2 separate regions of the Homo sapiens genome follow, and region 2 is linked to region 1. Evidence: promoter capture Hi-C in 16 types of primary human blood cells and fetal thymus (Javierre and others, 2016). All regions are on one chromosome and are shown on one strand. The core of a region is centred on a gene start or on the middle of the fragment in contact, and the rest is flanking DNA. Distances in the headings are between cores, read along the strand shown. Region 1 holds the start of AARS1 (alanyl-tRNA synthetase 1). Region 2 overlaps PDPR (pyruvate dehydrogenase phosphatase regulatory subunit).

The links. Contacts are between HindIII fragments. The CHiCAGO score rates a contact against its expected background, and 5 or more counts as called.
Region 2: a contact is called between a fragment that was not itself captured here and the fragment with the promoter of AARS1 in region 1, in 4 of 17 cell types (endothelial precursors, M2 macrophages, megakaryocytes and 1 more). The highest score is 11.9, in endothelial precursors.

What each region holds. Positions count from the first base shown.
Region 1 is chr16:70,287,671-70,291,112 of GRCh38, reverse strand. It overlaps AARS1 (alanyl-tRNA synthetase 1), which reads left to right and starts at 1,607. Exons shown (of 21, transcript NM_001605.3): 1 at 1,607-1,692. It also overlaps a transcript of DDX19B not described here. RefSeq lists a silencer at 2,262-2,391. The HindIII fragment of the contact is 11,417 bases long and covers 1-3,442 here.
Region 2 is chr16:70,153,773-70,157,214 of GRCh38, reverse strand. PDPR (pyruvate dehydrogenase phosphatase regulatory subunit) reads right to left here. Exons shown (of 19, transcript NM_017990.5): 19 at 1-740. The coding sequence ends at 336. LOC400541 (a long non-coding RNA gene) reads left to right here. Exons shown (of 3, transcript NR_126007.1): 3 at 711-875. Among named protein-coding and RNA genes, the nearest start is that of CLEC18C, 18 kb to the left of the region's middle. The HindIII fragment of the contact is 7,311 bases long and covers 1-3,442 here.

The DNA.
Region 1 (3,442 bases), core at 358-2,857:
CTATTTGTGAGCAGCTATGAAGTGGGAAAGTAAATCAAATGATTTATGTTTTTACTGGCTTTTGGGCTTGACCTTCTTTTTGTGTAGGATGCTCTTTTTGCATAAAAAGTAGTATTTTTCTGTATTGTCTGTAACTTGAGTTATGACCAGCAGCACAATTTATTACCCGTGTATTTGGATATATCAGATGATGGAGGTAATAGTGCAGTGGTTAAGAGCATGGGCTTTGGAGTTAAATAGACACAGGTTTGGATCCTGTCTCCACAACTTACTATTGGGTGTGAACTTGTGCAAGGTAATTTCCTCATTTGTAAAAAGGGGACTCCAGCTGACCTCATACACAGTTTAAAAATCAAATGAAATAAGCATGTGAAATGTTTGATGCAATGCCTCACGTATAAATACATACATATTTTTCAGACAGGGCCTCGCTCTGTCGCCCAAGGAATGCAGTGTCACGATCAGGGCTCACTGCAGCCTCAACTTCCTAGGCTCAAGTGATCCTCCCACTTCAACCTCCCAAGTAGCTGGGACTACAAGCATGCGCCACTATGCCTGGCTAATTTTTATTTTTTATTTTTTTTTTTGAGACGGAGTCTTGCTCCGTAGCCAGGCTGGAGTGCAGTGGCGCCATCTCGGCTCACCGCAACTTCCGCCTCCCGAGGTCAAGGGATTCCCTTGCCTCAGCCTCCCGAGTGGCTGGGACTACAGATGCGCGCCCGGCTAATTTTGTGTTTTTAGTAGAGACGGGGTTTCACCATGTTGGCCAGGATGCTCTCGGTCTCCTGACCTCGTCATCCGTTGGCCTCAGCCTCCCAAAGTGCTAGGATTACAGGTGTGGGCCACCGCGCCCGGCCTTTTAAAAAATTTTTCGTAGAGACAGGGTCTAGTTATGTTGACCAGGCTGGTCTCCAACTCCTGGGTTCAGGTGATCTTCCCACCTTGGCCTCCCAAAGTGTTGCAATTATAGGCGTGAGCCACCGCACCTGGCATGTATATATGTATATGTATATATATATATTCACCCTCCTCCCCCAGGCCTATAAATATTAACTTTTTTTTTTCCAAAGGCAAATCGAGGACCAGATGCTGATCCAATCGTACCTGAACTACTGATGTTATTTCTTCCACACCAAATTCAAGGTCTCCCCCGGACAAGTGTAACCATGGGCACAATGTCAGACTCTTTGAGGGCTGTGTATCACTCAGCAACTAAAATAAACAACTATAGCAAGATATGTAACCTCTACCAAACACGTTACCGTCTCCCCTTTTTAACTATGTCAATTGTGGTGTTAGGACTTTGCCTATGGAAACCAAAATGTCGACCTCCGGGAGCCGGGGGCGGGGGGGGGCGGGGGGGGCGGGGGGGGGTCTAACTCGATCATGTGACGCACCCCATCCCACCTTTTCTCGCAGTTGCATCAGCCAAGTTAGAGCCGCCTTCCCAGGAATCCACTAATGAACGGATTCGTCCTCAGTTTGACTGGCATGTTGGTTGACCAATAATATCTCATGAGGTAAGGCGCGGCGGGGCACTTTCCGTCGGCGCGCTCTGATTGGACGGAGCGTGGCGGGTTGTGGTAGGTCGTGGTCTGAGGCCGGTACAGCTGCGCGTCTGCGGGAATAGGTGCAGCGGGCCCTTGGCGGGGGACTCTGAGGGAGGAGCTGGGGACGGCGACCCTAGGAGAGGTAGGCCGCCCTCGGAGAGCTCTGCGGTGCTAGGAGAGCGGCTGGGCCCGCAGACTGGGGGGAAAGCTCCGCAGCCGCAGTGGGCCCCAGGATCAGGCCCCGCGTGGCCTGGAGAAGCCCAGTCTGGGCTGGAGCGGGAGCTGGACAGTGTGGCCTTGCGTTCGCCCCCGGGAGCGCTGCGAGTGTCGCGGCCTCGGGTGGATTTGCTGAGCACCAATACCTCACGGTTGCCAACCTGGGGTTTTAGCTCCCTTGGTTTTAATCCCCTAGGGGCGGGTGGGGGCACGGGAGGAAGGATGGGCCAGCTGGGTGCAATCCTGCTGTAAGCCAGCCATTCCTTGATTTCTTAAAATTAACTAAACAGCTGATGCCGGTCCAGGCGCACCGAGACCGTCATCTTAAGCTGTTCTGTAAAACAGTTTGTATTTCTCGGTGTGCTTTGAAGCATGTGAGTTAATTCCGAACTTGGTGTTAAAGGATTAGTATACCTGATCACGAAATACGTATTTAGCAGCCACTGTACTAGATGCTGAGGATGTGCTGTAATAGCCCAGGGCCAGGCGCGGAGGCTCACGCCTGTAATCCCAGCGCTTTGGGAGGTCGAGGCGGGCGGATCACCTGAGGTCAGGGGTTCGAGACTAGCCTGGCCAACATGGTGAAACCCCGTCTTTACTAAAAATACAAAAATTAGCCGAGCGTGGCGGCGCGCGCCTGTACTCTCAGCCACTCCGGAGGCTGAGGCATGAGAATCGCTTGAACCCGGCAGGCGGAGGTTGCAGTGAGCTGAGATCACACCATTGCACTCCAGCCTGGGTGACAGAGGGAGACTCCGTTTCAAAAAAAAAAAAAAAAAAAGAGCCCAGAACAGTCGTTGCTGCTGGGATGGAACTGACAGCCTGATGGGGGAGGCGCACATTAAACAATCCATGAAGCGCGTATGGAAATTATGAAGGGAAACACTTGAGGCTGTGAGACAGTAAAAGAGGGGGAGCCTTATCAAGAAGGGGAAGGCGGCCGGGCGCGGTGGCTCACGCCTGTAATCCCAGCACTTGGGGAGGCCGAGGTGGGCAGATCACGAGGTCAGGAGATTGAGACCATCCTGGCTAACACGGTGAAACCCCATCTCTACCAAATATACAAAAATAGCCGGGCGTGGTGACTGGCGCCCGTAGTCCCAGTAGTCCCAGCTACTCGGGAGGCTGAGGCAGGAGAATGGCGTGAACCCGGGAGGCGGAGCTTGCAGTGAGCTGAGATCGCGCCACTGCACTCCAGCCTGCGCAACAGAGCGAGACTCCGTCTCAAAAAAAAAAAAAAAAAAAAAAGAAGAAGGGGAAGGCTGTCTTAAATAAGTGTCTTGGCCGGGCGCGGTAGCTCACCCCTGTAATCCCAGCACTTTGGGAGGCCGAGGCGGGCAGATCGCCTGAGGTCAGGAGGTCGAGACCAGCCTGACCAACATGGAGAAACCCCGTCTCTACTAAAAATACAAAATTAGCTAGGTGTGGTGGCACATGCCTGTATTCCCAGCTACTCAGGAGGCTGAGGCAGGAGAATCGCTTGAAGCCGGGAGGTGGAGATTGCGGTGAGCCGAGGTTGCGCACCATTGCACTCCAGCCTGGGCTACAAGAGCGAAACACCGTCTCAAAAAAAAGAAAAAGTGTCTTTACGTTTGTTGTTGTTTGAGTCAGGGTCTCACCCTGTTACCTAGGCTGGAATGTTTTGGTGTGACCATAGCTCACTGCAGCCTCAAACT
Region 2 (3,442 bases), core at 520-3,019, 130 kb after region 1:
GCAGAATTTGAAAGCAGCTGTCACCATCACTCATGTCCACAGTGGAGCTTGCTTCTGTCCTGTCAGACATACCTCCTGCCACCACGAGAAGCTGAGTGAGGGGTGGGAAGGGAAGAAGAGCCCAGAGTGAATATTAGGAGGAGGAGGTGGAAGGGCAAGGAAGGCTGCAGAGCAAAAAAGTTTAAAGTAGGTCAAGTTCAAAATTATATCAAGGAGATAAGAGATGGGAGGCAAAGGCTCCAGAAGAGGAACAGAGGCGGAAGGAAGAGAAGCTCCAAGGTGACGCCCACTCTAGGACAAGATGATGGGGAGGAGGTGAGGCTGCCCTGGTGGCATCACTTCCCATGTAAGTCACTCAGCTCCATGTCATCCTTTCGGCGCTTCTGGGTGAAGAGGGAGGCGACAGGGTAGAGCTTGGCCTTGGCCTGGAAGCGGTATCCCGCGATGTCAATCTCATACTCTCCCCGGTTGATGAAATCTGCTGTCACCACTTGCTCTTCCCCCGTGTCCTCAGAAAAATTGTGCACAAAGCCCAGGCAAACGTGGCGCTCCAGGCTGTAGCTGTAGGCACTGCTGGTGGTCTTGCCAACATACTGCCCATTCCGGTAAATGGGCTCTCCCCACCAAGGCCAAAGGTCTAGGTCTGAATCATGGTCGTCCAGGATGAACATGGTGAGGCGTTTATACACTCCATTCTGCTTCTGCTGCAGGAGGGCGTCGCGACCAATGAAATCCATGCCCTAAGAAAGAAAGGAAACGCCGAGTCATCCAGCGACACTCAGACCCTCGGCACAGAGAGCAGCACCGTGGGAAGGGTCCCCTGGTGTCACTGCAATGGGGCACAGCCGCCTCCTCCCACAACCCTGCCAGCTTTTGGGAAACTGTGCGATTTCTACCATGTGAAAAACTGCATGTGAAATATAAAAGACGCCGCGGTAATTTTTGTAACAACAGAGGTACGCATTTTGTTTCCTATTTTATAAACATAAAGTCACAAGACCAGATAGAACAAAAACGTTTAGGAAGAAAACTCACTCACTTAATAAAATACCTTATCAGTCCAGTACTTTAGAAAAATGTTTTTATATTGGCCAGTCGTGGTGGCTCACGCCTTGAACAGAGATGAGGCAAACCTCATCTCTACTAAAAATACAAAAATAAGCTGGGTGTGGTGGAGTGTGCCTATAGTTCTAGCTACTTGGGAGGCTGAGACAGGAAAATCACTTGAACCTGGGAGGCAGAGGCTGCAGTGAGCCAAGATTCTGGTGGAGTGTGCCTATAATTCTAGGGAGACTGAGACAGGAAAATCGTTTGAACCTGGGTGGCAGAGGCTGCAGTGAGCCAAGATTGCACCACTGCAGTCCAGCCTCGGTTGACACAGCAAAACTCTGTCTCAAAAAAAAAAAAAAAAAGACTTTTTTATATAATCCCAACAAGACCATGCACATCTATATTCAATGCATACACACATATATACACATATGTACAACAAATAAGACTAGAATAAACTATTAACGGTGATTATGGCCAGGCACGGTGGCTCACGCCTGTAATCCCAGCACTTTGGGAGGCTAAGGCGGGGGGATCTCCTGAGGTCAGGAGTTCGAGACCAGCCTGACCAACCTGGAGAAACCCCATCTCTACTAAAAAAAGAAAAAATACAAAAATGCCTTCTCATGCTCAAGTGATTCTCCCACTTCAGCCTCCCAAGTAGCTGGGCCCACAGATGCGCCACCACACCCACCTAATTTTTTGTATTTTGGTAAAGACAAAAAATACAAAATTAGCTGGATGGCTTACAGCTACTCGGGAGACTGAGGCAGGAGAATCGCTTGAAGCCAGGAGGCAGAGATTGCAGTGAGCTGAGATCGCGCCACTGCACTCCAGCCTGGACAACAAGAACGAAACTCCGTCTCAAGAAAGAAAAAAAAAATAGTTACTACCATTAAATAGACAAAATATGGGTGATTTTAATTTCCTTCTTTATATTTTCCAAAATGGGTTATTACCTTTTTTTTTTTTGGAGATGGAGCCTTGCTCTGTCACCCAGGTGGGAGTACAATGGTATGATCTCGGCTCACTGCAACCTCTGCCTCCCAGGTTCAGGCAATTCTCCTGCCTCAGCCTACCGAGTAGCTGGGATTACAGGTGCCTGCCACCATGCCCAGCTAATTTTTATATTTTTAGCAGATACGGGGTTTCACCATGTTGGCCGGGCTGGTCTCGAACTTGTGAACTCAGGTGATCCGCCCAAAACAAAAAAACCAAAAAAATTAGGCCGGGTGTGCTGTCTCACGCCTGTAATCCCAGCACTCTGGGAGGCCGAGGAGGGCGGATCACCTGAGCTCAGGAGTTCGAGACCACCCTGGCCAATGTGGTGAAACTCTGTCTTTACCAAAATACAAAAAAATTAGCTGGGCATGGTTGTGCATCTGTGGTCCCAGCCACTTGGGAGGCTGAAGTGGGAGGATCACTTGAGCATGAGAGGGCATTGCAGTGAGCCAACATCGCGCCACTGCACTCCAACCTGGGTGACAGAATGAGACCCCACCTCAAAATCAAAAACAAAAGAAAAAAACCACAAAAATTAGGCAGCTGACTATAGGACGACTAGTTTGTACAAATATTCGTGGCATGTTAATGCATCACCATAATTAACTCAGAATAGCTTCCCAGAAAGCACTCAGTCTTTTAGACAGCAGAACACTAGAAATAAGTGGGTTTTTTTGTTTGTTTTTCAATTGTAATTCAGAGACAAGGTCTTGCTGTATTGCCCAGGCTGAGCTCAAGTGATCCTCCTGCCTTGGCCTCCCAAAGTGCTAGGATTACAGTTGTGAGCCACCGCACCTGACCAAGTGTCATCTATTTACTATGTTTTCTTTTTTCTGAGACGGAGTCTTGCCCTGTCACACAGGCTGGAGTGCAGTGGTGCGATTTTGGCTCACTGCAACCTCTGCCTGTTAGGTTCAAGTGATTCTCCTGCCTCAGCCTCCCGAGTAGCTGGAACTACAGGTGCTGGCCACCACGCCCAGCTACTTTTTGTAAATTTTTTTTTTTTTGAGACGGAGTCTCGCTCTGTCGCCCAGGCTGGAGTGCAGTGGCGTGATCTCGGCTCACTGCAACCTCTGCCTCCTGGGTTCACGCCATTCTCCTGACTATAGGCGCCCGCAACCACACCCGGCTAATTTTTTGTATTTTTAGTAGAGACGGGGTTTCACTGTGTTAGCTAGGATGATCTCGATCTCCTGAACTTGTGATCCGCCCGCCTTGGCCTCCCAAAGTGTTGGGATTACAGGTGTGAGCCACCGTGCCCGGCCTACTTTTTGTATTTTTAGTAGAGACGGGTTTTGCCATGTTGGCCAGGCTGGTCTCGAACTCCTGACCTCAGGTGATCCACCCGCCTCAGCCTCCCAAAGTGCTGGGATTCAGGCGTGAGCCACCA